Linked DNA regions of Homo sapiens: region 1 is linked to region 2. The links are contacts of gene promoters, found by promoter capture Hi-C in human tissues and cell types (Jung and others, 2019). All regions are on one chromosome and are shown on one strand. The core of a region is centred on a gene start or on the middle of the fragment in contact, and the rest is flanking DNA. Distances in the headings are between cores, read along the strand shown.

Evidence for each region. Contacts are between HindIII fragments. The study calls those that stand out against the background at their distance.
Region 1: a fragment that was not itself captured here is called in contact with the fragment with the promoter of NETO1 in region 2 in 1 of the 25 tissues and cell types used here (dorsolateral prefrontal cortex).

The regions. Positions count from the first base shown.
Region 1 is chr18:73,943,299-73,949,886 of GRCh38, reverse strand. It overlaps LOC124904358 (a long non-coding RNA gene), which reads right to left and starts at 2,007. Exons shown (of 2, transcript XR_007066470.1): 1 at 1,536-2,007. The HindIII fragment of the contact is 3,980 bases long and covers 391-4,370 here.
Region 2 is chr18:72,866,737-72,873,741 of GRCh38, reverse strand. NETO1 (neuropilin and tolloid like 1) reads left to right here and starts at 5,755. Exons shown (of 11, transcript NM_138966.5): 1 at 5,755-6,478. The coding sequence starts at 6,451. NETO1-DT (NETO1 divergent transcript) reads right to left here and starts at 5,354. Exons shown (of 2, transcript NR_134648.1): 1 at 5,280-5,354. The HindIII fragment of the contact is 16,969 bases long and covers 2,129-7,005 here.

The DNA of each region.
Region 1 (6,588 bases), core at 1,131-3,630, 1.1 Mb before region 2:
GGAAATCTTATGAAGAATGCCAATATTAAAAATCAGAGTGGGTCACGGTTGAAAGTAGGTGGGAATACATTTAGCCCTCTTCTTTTTTATAGTGTCCCTGAGGGGCTATGTGTCTATCTGCTGGAGGAGAATGGTGATCTGACACACTGTTTGGGTCCAACCCCTTTAAGACAACTTTCCTTAACAACACTTATAGATTTCCCAATTCAGGATTTTAGTAACAACAGCAGCAGCTGCAACGTTTATTATGCACACTCAACAGGTGGCAGGCAGTGCATTTGGCACTTTACATGGGTTGTCTCTTAAGCCTCACAACAAATGAATGAGGTAGTGTCAAGTCAGGGAACAGTCCCTAAGACCACTCTCACTTCTGACACCAATTGCAGATTTGGGGGTCCTCGAGACAATCCTCAGTTTTGATATTTTGCTAGAAGGGCTCACAAACTCACTGAAAGTTATTATACTCATGGTTACAGTTTATTACAACAAAAGGATTAAAATCAGCCAGGAGAAGACGCACACAGGGCAGATCTAGGAAGGTTCAAAACATGGAACTTCCAGTTGCTCCTCCCAGTAGAGTCACAGTACTAACTTCTCCCATCAGTGATGTGTGACAAACCACACAGAATGTTGCCAGCCAGGGAAGCTACGCAACCCTTGGTGTCCAGCGTTTTTGTTGGGGATTGGTCATGTAGACATGCCTGACCTCAGCTTCTAGATCCTTCGAAGTTGAACTGATGATACATGTGACCAGAAACCCTCTTCCTAAATCATATTGTTAGACTGGGGTGGCCCAACACACCCAGGTAAACTAAGACACGTTTATCAGGACACTAAGATGCTAAGGCTTTCCAAATGCTTAGAGAGCACCTCCCATGAACCAAAAGAAAAGACCAGATTTCTCTTTGGGCCATGTTGAATTCTTTATTTCATAGATAGCTACTAGAATTCTTTTCCATCTCATAGATGAGGAAACTGAAGCTTAATGAGTCTAAGTAACACTTTGTAGTTGGTGAAGCTGGGTCTTGAAGCAGGGCAGACGATTCCGGAAGCTAAACTTTTAACTTTAATTTCTTATGAAGGTATTTGACAGTCCAAGCTGCACCATTTTGTAAACCCCTGCCATTTTGCAAACCCTGGTCAGAATGGAAAATTCCACTAGGGCTCAGGCCACATAAGAAACATCCTGGGACTTTCCAGACAAGTCCCAGGCCTAACTGCCTGACCCCAGGAAATTCCTCCCTTATCATCAGCTAACCACACTGCCCACCCCATTTCCCAACAAGCCCAGACCTCTCCCTCCTGGAACTATAATTACCCCAGCCTGTAAGGGGGTGTGGGCTCTGGTGCTAGCTGATGTCCCCCTCCGCAAATCTTTGTTCAATAAACCTTTGTTGCCCTAGAGCTGCCTCTGTTCGTTCCTTCTCCCTTTCCTGCTCTAACAGTATTAAAAAGAATTATTGGTACTTGACCCAATGGTTAATTTAGACATAAATACACATGCTAGCAAAGAAATTATAGTCAGGTAAACTCACAGCAGAATCCTGATATTAACAGGCAGTCCTGTCATCTCCAGTGTAGCTAGGAAAAAGCCCATTCTTGTCCATTTGTCCCAGGTCACTCCCGACCATGTGAATAGATCATCAGAATTGCCAGTCTGAGTGCTGCACCCCCCCAAGTCACTCCACGCTGCCTGTCGTCTGCCACTGTCAGTGTTCAGCCTTTAAAGTCTTCATTAACTTCATTTACAATGGTCTAGCTATTTCTGTTCTTTAATTGCTAATTCCACAATGCCAGGGTGAGCTTTCCTCCAATGCAAATGTTTTTGAAAATGCTGGCTGCAAAACATTTTTGCTGCAACATGCCTCTGATTGCTTCAAATTGTTTCTTTTCTGCACCACTACCTTTGAAAAGTTTAAAAAAGGTACTGTTTGCTCTTCCATATCCTGTGATAATTATAAGAGACTCTATCCTTGCATCCTGGAGCTGCTTCCTGTGCCTTCTCTCTCAAAAACCCCTGCTGCAGCGACTGTAGTTACACGCGTCACCAGCTACATCCCTTGGGTTTTGCAGTAACTGTTTATGTTAGCTATAGTGGCCATATTTTCTCAGACAAAATTTGGGACACATGGCCCAGCAAGGATGACTGTGCATATGGGTACACAGGACATAATATTTCTTTCCCAGAAAACTTGAGACATATGGTCTCCATATGTATAGAATATATGGCCTCTTGAATGTCTCTTTATTGATGCATTTCTAGTCACATGAATATGTAACAATAGTAATGTGATTTTTATAGCCTCTCTGTCAGGAGTTTTTCATTTGAAAAACATATTCATCATTTCTGTTTGTGGTAAAATTACTGCTCAATTTAGTGGCCAGCTTTACATGGTACGTGATGTATCTTGGTTTTGATGTTCTTTAGTGAATATATTTTCTTACTTCTATTTAGGGATCTGTGGTCTGTCTAGGCCAAAAAAGCAAACAACAAAAAAAAAGGCTGTGTGTATTCATTTGTTCTGAAAATGTCTGTGGAGGAGGTGGCTTGGTGGCGAATGATTTCACGGTAGGCATGTGGGAGGAAGCTTCAGAAAATAGATGAAAGTTTATGAAGTTATTTAGCTGTTGGGGTCAGTGAACATGGGTATTTTGAAAGGCAGAATAAGTGATGAATGAAGGGGGAATAAGAAAATGGCAGAAAAATGGAAAATATAATGGTGTAGAAGGCATTTTTTTCTTCTAGTTGCCTACTCTTTAGCCTGCTCTCAGGTGGCTAATGGAGGAAATAAATAAATAGGTGGCTTTAATCCTCAGTAGAGCAAACAACAGTGACAGCAAGCAGAGCAAGCTTCCTGTGAACACAAATTAAATGTGTTTGAGTAAGAAATATGAACTGTAGTGAGCATTTATTAATAAAAATTCTGTGAGCAGTAATGAATGACATTCTAGTAGACAGAGATAACCTCCAAAGTAAGCAAGAGATGATATATTTGATTGGAATAACTAAAACAAGAAGCTTCCAAAAGAAAAATGATCCCCTACCAGCAGTTAAACTAAATTGGACAGCAGTGCAGCTCATCACAGGTGACGAGGGGCCTCCAGTACCTCGTAGGCTGGAGGTCACATTGACCTTCAGAGAGTACATGGAATCCAAGCTCAAAGTACCAAAGAGGGTGATGAATGTGACAGGCAGCTCTGTCAGAGTTTTCTCTTTCATTAGGTTGTTTTACACTCAATGTAAGCTCCATCCAGAATTCTTTGTTTTTGCGTAACATCACTTATCCAGTACCTCCAATGTAGTCTTGATTTTCCTATGGGGCCACAAAGGTGATTTTCTCCACCATTTCTTCCATTCTGTGAAGGAAAGCAGTCACAACTTTGCTTAAAACTTTCAGTCATTTCCCATTATTCTTAGGAGAAGGAAAAAAATCTTCTACATGGCCTGCATTCCCTTGGCCTTCTTCCTCCATTGTAAACAAATGTCCCGGAAGCGTCTGTGCAAGCTCCCTGGCTTCTAGCACCTGTGCTAATTCTGACTCCCCTGGAGAGTGCACCTTCCCTTCTTATCCTAGTTAACTCCTTCCCAGCTGTCAGGTTTCTGCTCACGTGTCACCTGCAGAAAAGCTTCTCTAACTCTTAATCCTAGGGAAGGTCACTCTGCTCTAGATCCTCATTGTGCATGGAGTACTTTCCTTATGGTATTTAATACAAACATGAATATTCTTCTCCTTTGCTAGACTAAGCTCTACAAGGTCAGGGGTGCCATTTTGTTCACCTGTGCATCTCAAAATGTAGCACATTGTTGGGTATGCAGCATGGTGTAGATTATGTGTTCATCATATGATATGAAGCATGGTGTAGACTATGGGCTCATGGCCTGGTGTGGAGTATCGCCCTGATTATGTACTCATGGCTTGGTATGGAGCATGGTGTAGACTATGTGATTATCATCTAGTTTGAAGCGTGGTGTAGGCTGTGCACTCATGGCCTGGTATGGAGCATGGCCTAGACTATGTGCTTATGGTCTGGTATGGAGCATGGTGTTGGACTATGCACTCATCATCTGATTTGAAGCATGGTGTAGACTATGTGCTTATGGCCTGGTGTGAAGCATGGCCTAGATTATGTACTCATGGCCTGGTATGGAGCATTGTGTAGACTATGTGCTTATCATCTAGTTTGAAGCATGGCGTAGGCTGTGCACTCATGACCTGGTATGGGGTAGGCTGTATACTCTGTGCTCATCACTTGATATGAAGCATGGTGTAGGCTGTGCACTCATGGCCTGGTATGGAGCATGGCCTAGGCTATGTGCTTATGGCCTGGCATGGAGCATGGTGTAGACTATGTGCTCATCATCTGATTTGAAGCACGGTGTACACTATGCACTCATGGCCTGATGTGAAGCATGGCCAAGACTGTACACTCATGGCCTGGTGGTGTGGAGCAGGGAGTAGTGTATAAAACCATGGCATGGTCTGGAGTATGTACTCAATCCATTTTCTGGAACGAGTGAACATTCTTGTTCTCAGATTGACTACTTTCATGGGAAAACTCCAGTTACTGAGGCCAAATGGGTCTGAGCTGTCCCAAACTCTGCAGTGCCATGTCTTAAAATGGCTTTGCTTCCTATTTGTCATCCTCTCAGGGCAATGACTCAGGAAGAAAAATAAATCCAGGACCTATACTCATTTAAATAAACTCTGGCATTCATCTTGTTTCCTTTTGAAGATTTGAGTCACCTTGATGTCCACAAGCTCCCACTGTGAATTATTATGAACCTTGGGGAGAGGAGAATTCCTGGAACATCAAGGCAGGGGAGAGGCAGTAAGGTAATAATAACAGGGGCATGCATGGAGTACACACTGCTCTAGATTTGAGGGCCTAGGTGTGGGGGCCTAAGTTCCCCACGGGCATCAGCTCATTTAATCCTCCCAGTAACCCTAGGAGGCAGGTGCTATTATCAGTCACCCACATGGTTCAGATGAGGACAGTGAGGTGTGGAGGAAATAGCTAGTCAATGTGAAAGAAGGATTTAAACCCAGTCATTCAATCTTCATAACCTGTATTCTTAGTCATGGTGCTAAACTGTCCTTCAAGACAAGAAAGCTTCTCCCAGACTTTCTTCCTTGATTTGTATGCCTTCTTTTCACAGGAGGGTAACTGTGTTTAGTTGTGTTCATAAACCTGAATGGCATCCTTCCATATATCAATTCGTTCTTTCACAAAGCATTTCCAAATACTTAGCACATACTGGGTGTCGCAGTTAGCACTGAGGATACAGAGTTAAGCATACTTCATTCTTGTCTAGAGGTAGAAATATATATATATATATATATATATATATATATATATATAAAATCTCTCTCTATATATTTATCAATATACATATGCTAATCAATATGTATATATGTAAATCCCTGTCTCTCTCTACCTATCTATACATGTATCCAGACTCTAGAGGTTGAAAGTATAATATAATATAAGTTTTAACAAATTATTATGGCCATCTAGCAGACGGGGTTAGTAAATGAGTATCTTTGAAAGAGTGTAGGAGAAGAAATCCTCATGGAGGAGTTAACATCTGGATCTGGAATGATAAAAATGAATTTGACAGGCAAATAAGTAGAGAAGAACATTAAAGGAAGAAGGAACAGCATGACAACGGTGGGGAGGGGGCCTTGGCTGTGGAGAGGGCTTAGTGGAGGGACTTTGTGGTGTGGGTGGAGCCGTGGGGAAGGAGGTGGGAGGATGGACTGAGGCCAGATGGTGCAGGTTTGTAAATGTGATTGTTCATTCGAAGTGAGAGATCCACCGGGTTTGTTGGCAAAACTGGCATTATTATTTTAGCAAGACAGCCAGGGCCCCTCTGGGGATGATGGACTGGAAGTTGGCGGCGGTGCTACTGAAGAGAGGGAGGGGGTCAGCCCATGGAGCCGGCTGGTTTCCAGGTTGGAGAGGTGACAACGCTTCCCACCCCTGGTGTGTTCTGCGTCCAAATGGTTCCACCACTCTCCGTGGGCTGCACAGCCCTCCAAAGGATGCTGTGTCTGTGGATGGGCCCTCTGGGAGGTTTGAAATGTCTGGCAGGCAAGTCCTTTAGTGCAGTAAAGAGGTATTTAAAACAAGCACCTGTTACACGCTTCATGGGGGCTTGATGAGGAGGAAGAGTAACTGGAGCCTGTGGGCCCCGTGAATTGGTAGAAAGGGCACAGTCTGGTGGCCGTGCCTTTCCTTCTCCGGAGGCATGAGCAGGGTGAAGGCTTTTCATGGGAGAAACTTGCTGTCTTCACCTGAGCCCCTATGTTCTTTCATTTTTTAATACTCAAAGTCCCTGAGCCCCATGTGAGCCCTTTCTGTGGAACTGCAACTGAGAGGCCAGGCCACAGGCCCCTGCCTTCCCCTCTGGCTCCGGGCAACACTGGCTGGAACACTCACTAATTCCGTGGCATGTTACAGGTCTCAGGTTCCCCCCAGGACACCCATGAGGGTCCAGGAAGCTCAACTTGCCTCCTTGGCTTCGTGATGCTCAAGGACTGCTTCTTAACCATACTACTTTGAAATAGATCCCAGTCCCTTCCTATA
Region 2 (7,005 bases), core at 4,506-7,005:
AGTCTGGGTGACAGAGCAAGACTCAGTCTCAAAAAAAAAAAAAAAAAGAAAAGAAAAGAAAAGAAAAAATATATATACCAAAAATTAACTGCATCTATCAATTATAAAACTATAATAGAGAATATTTAAATAATAATTTACTAAAAAGTAAAATATATTTTGCCTTAATTTTTGAAAATTATTGTAACTATAACTATTTGGCAAAAATTCTGCTGCTATATACATTGCTACTTTCTGAAAATATATTATTTGTAAATTTATCTAACCTAAAACTGAAAACAAAGTTAGTTTATGTTTCATATCTTGTCTTGCAAATGTAAATGGAAACATGGTAGGACATTTCCTTACACATATTAATTATAACAGAGAATGGACACTCAAAGAAAGAATAGGTAAATCAGGTAATTAGTGTTTAAAAAAGGAAGATTTTCATTTAACATTTCCCTTCATGCACAAAAGCTTGGTACTCTCCTCAAAATGTATTTAAGTCAGGTAAGTCCTGGATGTTAAGTCCTACCTTAACATCCAGGGTTACTTTCACCAAGCAAATCATGGCTTTTGTTAGTTTCCAAATCCACATAATAATATATCATAATAAGATTAAAGTATGTGCTAAATAGCCAAAGTTATTAAGTTTATGTGATGCTATTAACTTATATAATTATGAAAAAAGGCTGGGCGCTGTGGCTCACACCTGTAATCCCAGCACTTTGGGAGGCTGAGGCGGGCTGATCACCTGATGGTAGGAGTTTGAGACCAGCATGGCCAACATGGCAAAACCCTGTTTCTACTAAAAATATAAAAAAAAATTGTGCGGGCGTGGTGGCGCACACCTGTAATCCCAGCTACTCTGGAGGTTGTGGCAGGCTTGAACCCAGGGAGCAGAGGTTGTAGTGAGCCGAGATCGTGCCACCTCATTCCAGCCTGAGCAACAGGGCGAGACTTCAACACACACACACACGCACACACACACACGCACACACAAAGTATGTCTAACCCATGAGAAACTTTCACATGTCTGATTTAGCACACTGAAGTAACATTTTGTTTGTATTTATTAATGGTTATTTTGACATGGAATATGTAGATTTACCCTTTAGTTTAGCTTATATTTTCCAAATATGCCGTCTTCTAGGAGTGGAAACTTGTTTTTTCCCTGAAATAGCAGTGCGTGGACTTTGTGGTACAATACTTATACTATAAAGGTGGCTTCTGTACAGAGCCTTTACACTTTTAATCTTGGGGTGTATCTTCGTAAATGTTCCTGAAGTTTATGTTGATTTATAGAGGATGAGCTTATAATTAGTCGAGTGATCATAAAAATAATTGGTATTATTTTTATAAGCCACTGCGAAGTAAATATCAATCAAAATGAAAATTTTTTTTCTGAAGTTTTGATATGGATTGAAGGATCATGTATCTGAAAGTGCTAACTGGCAAAGGAAGTGCTATGAAAGTTCTTTCCCACAAGAGGCAAACATTCTTGTGCTGCCTAAGAATACAATATATTTGTACTTCTAACAAAACTATATTTTATTTTTCCCTAGTGGTGATCATAAAATATCCTGTTTGGTTTAAATGTAAGATTTCAGAGATTTTGACAGGTCTTCTATTTCGTGGAGACTTTCTACTGCGTTAGGATACTCCTATAGATTTTTTGAAGAGAGCTTCTTCAATATTGCTTAAAACCAGCTTCATGTTAGACTATTTCAGAGAATTTTCAAAAAACATTCCTATATTTACCAGCAAATTACTTGTTTTTGAGAAACTAGTATTATGACATATATTGTTAAATGCAAAAACCTTTACACTTCACAACCATGTAAATAAATTATGTAAAAATCAGAAAATATTATTGTAATATGGATGTGTCATTAGCACTATTACATTTGAGTTATTTTTTGTAGCATCACCTCTTTTACTGATAGACAACTTTTAAGATGATGCCAGTACTGGAGATTAATTAACAAAGGAGCCCTGGTAGAACTGTAGCTTTATTTTTTCCTATAGAGAAGTACATGTATGTAGACAAATACTATGTGCATTTGAATTAGAAGGGCTTGTACCCTACGCCAATTCTTTTTAGGATTTTGGAAGTCCATATGATCTTTCATTGTTAGGAAGCTGCAAGCTGAGAAATAAAACCAACTTACTAATGACACCTTCATTGGGTTCAAGTGGCTTTAATTCTGCACCATCTTCTATAGTAGTCACTATTTCAATGCTAACCTTGGGGAACTGCGACAAAGCACCATCTTCCAGGATGGCACACTCAACTCACAAAAGCTATCAGTTTATATGCTCTTCCTTTCAAAATAACGACATCATCTTGTAATTTGACCATATGTTTGCGCAACCTTTTCTGGGAGAAACTGAACTTTTCCCATATGTTGTTTTTTCTCAGAAAGAAAAATCTTATGGGTCCCTATTAGGGAGGTAGCATTACTCAGCAAGTGTGGATTCTGGAACTCAAAAATGAGAAGGCAGCTTGCCAAGTAAACAGGATGTAGTGGATGGTGAAAAGCGTGTATGGGTGTGTATGAAGAAAAATGAATGGAATTGTCAATAACAATGCTACACTTGCAGCCTGGAAAGAGTAGGAGAGTGCAGCGCGGGCCTCAGCATCTGTGTTGGCCCAGTCTCTTGGTTGATTATCAGAGCACCTGAGCTAGCCAGGCCTCTGTCCTGTCCTAGGTCCAGAACGTGCACACTCACTCCCTCAGCACTGAGGTTTCAGCAAAATTTAATGCCTCAGCCCCACGCATTGCCCGAGAAAGCACTGGGCATTAAAGATCAGCGGGAGGCCACAGGATCACTTTTGGCCAGGAGTCTGAGAACAGCATGGGTAACATGGCTAGACCCCCTCTCTAAAAAATATAAAAAATAAAAGAATTAGCCAGGCATGATGGCCTGTGCCTGTAGTCCCAGTTACTCCAGAGGCTGAGGTGGGAAGCTCAGTTGAGCCCAGGAAGTTGGGGCTGCAGCAAGCTGTGATCCAGTCACTGCGCTCCAGCCTTTAATTCATTAAAAAAAGAAAAAAAATGGAGACCACTGTTTATGCAAGATATTTGATTTCAAATACAGGCGTGGACAAAAGGTTAGGACCCTTTCACCTTCCTTATGAGTTCCTTCCTAATTTCCTGTGTCCCATAAAAGGACTACTTGTTTAGCAACGTAGCCCCTTCCTTGGCAGGTTACAAAATCCCAGTGTCCTGGGAAACTGTTCTGGGCAAAGAGGACAGAAGAGGGCAGGTGAATGAGAGCATTTATGGTAAAACCAAGTTTTCTCTGCCTTCAAACTGTGATTGAGAAATGCAGTAACTTTCTACAAATAATTTTAAATGTTGCCACTTTCTTTGTAGAACTGTGTCATCTTCACGAATAACGCATATTTTGGATGTAAAGAAAGTGCCATCCAACCATAAGAAAGATTCCAACATTCAACTGTCAACTCTTGCGACTGGTCCTTTTGCAAGACCTCCACCCTCTCCTCTATAGATGACCCGGATCCCCAAAAGCGTTTTCCAAGCATTCTGTCATCTGCATATCCCTCTGTTGAGCAGCCTCACTGATCTTTGAACTCTTTTGCTTCCTTAAGGCTGGAGAATTTCTTCCTCAACTCCACGACGAACATTGCCCACCACCTCCCACCCCGCGCTGGCACGAGCACCTCACGTGGGTCACAGGACTCCCGCGGGACCTTCTGCGTGTTTCCCCTTGATCTTTTTACAAGTAGGTGCGTGGGCGGATACTCACCAATCTCCCTTCATCCGCTCACCTCTCTCCCTTTGCTCAAGCTTGCAGCTCCTCTCACAGGCCTCCAGCTCTGCTGGACTTGGCGTATTCAGAGGCGCGCAGCCTCTCTGTCCTCTTCCCTCTCCCCCATTTCTTCTGTCCTCCGCCTTCTCGTCTCCCTACTCTCTTCTGTCCCCTCATTCTCTCTCCTGCCTCTCTTTTCTCTCCCCGCTCCTCTTTTCCCTTTCTTCTCTCTCTCCTTTCTCTCTCTCTTACCCTGTCCATGTCTTCCCCCTTCTCTCAGCTTTCTCTCTTTAGGTCTCCATCTCGCTCTACTCCCGGGTTGACCCATGACCCAACTTTCATTACACGGATGCACAACACGCGCGCGCGTATATGCGCGCGCACACACAAACACACCATCCCCTTTGCTCGGTCACTTTACCCCACCCTGGAAATCGAGGAACCAGCACTTTGGTGTGGTGGTAGGAGGCTTGGGGGCGCGTGTGAGACTCTGAATCCCTTCCAGACTTGGGGGTCACCTCATCGTCCCTCATCCCAACTTACTGGCAGGAGACCTCCACCCACTCACAGCCGCTGCGCTAGGCGTGGGCAGGACTGCGACGAGCACCCAACGCCCCGCGCAGCCCCGCGCGCACGTGGGCGCCCCAGCAGCAGGTGCCGGGAAGCGGAGGCCGGGCCAGAGCCGGGAGGCAGCCCCCCGGCCTCGAGCGCTCGCCAGACTCTTCTCATGGCCCTTTCTCCTTTCCTCGGCCTTTCGGGGCCACCCTAGTCTTCACAGCTCAGCGTCTGCTGCTGACCCCCCGCCCCCCGGCGACCCCGCCATTGCCATTAGCTCTTCCTACCCCGGCTTCTTCGCCGCCACAGTCCCCAACCCAAGCCCCAGCCGCGGCGCGGGTGTGGGTGGCCGGACGGGATGGCTTCCGTAGTCCCGGGGTCCGGCGGGCTCGGCTGTGGTCTGCGTGGGTCGCGTCCGCAGAGGCCGAGGGAGGGCGGGACGGAGCCGGGAAAGGGAGGAGGTGCCGTTGCGGCGCCCAGGGAGGGACTCCCTGCACCCCCGCGCGCTCCAGCCCTTCCCGGCGCTGCCTCGCGGTTGCCCTTATTTCGTATTCATTGATTCGCATTTTACAAGCCCGGGCTCTTCCGGTGCTGTTTCCCCGCAACTCGTGTCTCCCAGACTTTAACGCGCCGCGCGAGCCTGTAGGAGGAAGTGGCGCGGGGGAACGGGGGTCCGTGTGTGCCTTGGGGTGGTTTTAAATACCTCGAGGTGGGGGGCTCAATTGCAAGAAGCCCGCGTCTTTGCAGGAGTAATTTGGTGGGGGGACTGGACATCAGGCCCAGTGCTCAACCGCGAAACTTTTACGGCCGCCTTTCCCTGGGGCGCGCCCCTGCCGTGTCTCCCAAGCTGAGCGCGGAGTCCGCGGCGAAACCTGCGCCCCAGGGAGGGAGGGAGAGGGGGCGCCCAGTTCCTTTACGCGGATGGAAAAGAAGGGGTGGGAGGCAGAGAGCCCGCAAGGTCTAACCTTTAAAAAGTGAAACACCAAACCCCACAAGGGATTTTCACACGAAGGCCCCTCCCGCTTCCACGCCTTCCGTCCGGCACGAGGATCCGGCTCGGGATTTGCGGCTGCATCCTCTCTCTGCGCCCTGGCGGGCCGAGCCGCGGATCCCAGCCGGGTCCTCACCCCCTCCCCGCCCCTCCCCCAGATCCGCGCGGCTGGGATGTCCTTGCTGCCGCCGCCGCGGCCCCATTCTGCCGCGCACCAGCCCCGGGGCGCCGGCCGCGCGCAGCCTCGCTATCCCACCCAGGCTCCGGGCTTCCAGGAGGGTCGTGGAGCCCCAAGCCATGACTAAGGAGCCCATTTGGTAACTCTGCCCTCTTCCGGCTCCTTTCTCCTCCCTCCCTTCCCCGCCCCCCGGCCCCCCCCCCGGCCGCCCCGCTCCCCTGCACCGCCCTCCAGCCCGCCTCCCAGACGCCCACCCACCCGCTCCTCTTTCCGCAAGATAGCAGAGGTGGCGCGCAGCCCGGCGAGCCGATGACGGACCCCTTCTTCCTGCCTTCAATGCCTCAGCGGAAGATCCCCAAGGGCTGGAGCGAGGAGCGCTGCCGCTGGACATCCTCCCGGGGAGGCTGCTCCGACCTGCTGCGCGGCGCGTCTGAGACTGGGGACTGAGCCACCCCGCCGCCGCCGGCGCCGCCGCCGCCGCCCGCTCCGTCGCTGCCGTCGGTCTGGACTGGCCCCCACCTCGCTGCGCCCTCTCCCCGGCCCCGGCCCCGGCTCGGGGCGTCCCGGGGCTCGCCCTGCGACCGCCGCCTCCCGCGCGCCGCGTCCTCCCGACCCCGCGGCGGCGACGATGCCCGGGAGGAGGGTCCTGACGGCGGCGGCGCGGATGGTGGCGGCCGGCGCCCGGGTGTGATGCGAGCGTCACGGTGGGGATGCTGCTGGCTGCGCGGCGCTGAGGGCCAGCGAGAGCGAGAGCCCGCCCGGGGCGGAGGACGGACTCATCCGGATCTGGCTGCAGCGTGGGCTCGGAGCTCCCCCTTCCTCTCGGTCTCCCTCTCGGCCCCCCTTTATTTCCTTCTTGCTTTGCGTCTTTAACACCTCTCGACCCTGTCCTCCCCCCGCCACTGGAAGTCTTCCCGTCTCTAAATGGAATTAGTGGAGCCCGGAGCCTCTGGTGTAACGCACAGACATGATCCATGGGCGCAGCGTGCTTCACAGTGAGTACCCTCCCCGCCGCGCCCGTGCGCTCCCGGAGCCAGCCCTCCCGCCCCTTTCCCGGGGCCGAACGCGCAGGAAAAGCCTCTGCGCCGCGCTCCGGCGGACCCTGCAGTCCCGCGCGGGTCGGGGCCGACGTAAACTTTCTGTATTGCAGCATCGTGGAACCGGGCGTGGGGGCGGCGCGCGGTCAGCCGTCGCCGGATCCCAAAACCTGCCGGAGAACGGTCTTTCAGTGCGCAGGAACCCCCCGGGGGTGGAGGATAGCGTGCAGTTCAGGGATGGACACGTGCGGCAGAGATTGGCCCAAGCGAGGGCGCAGGTGGAAAGCGGGAGAGCGCGGATGATACCTAGTGGGGCCAGAGGAGTCTTCCTCTTCTAGGGGCTCCCGGAGCTCGGCGGGCCCCTGTTCGCAGTACAGGAGGTAGCAGAAGGCACACCTGAAGCCAGCGCTGGAGGGAAGGGCGAGGGTCAGCTTCCACCCCTTTCCGCCCTGGAGACCGCTGATGTCGCTTTATGGGTGTGTGGT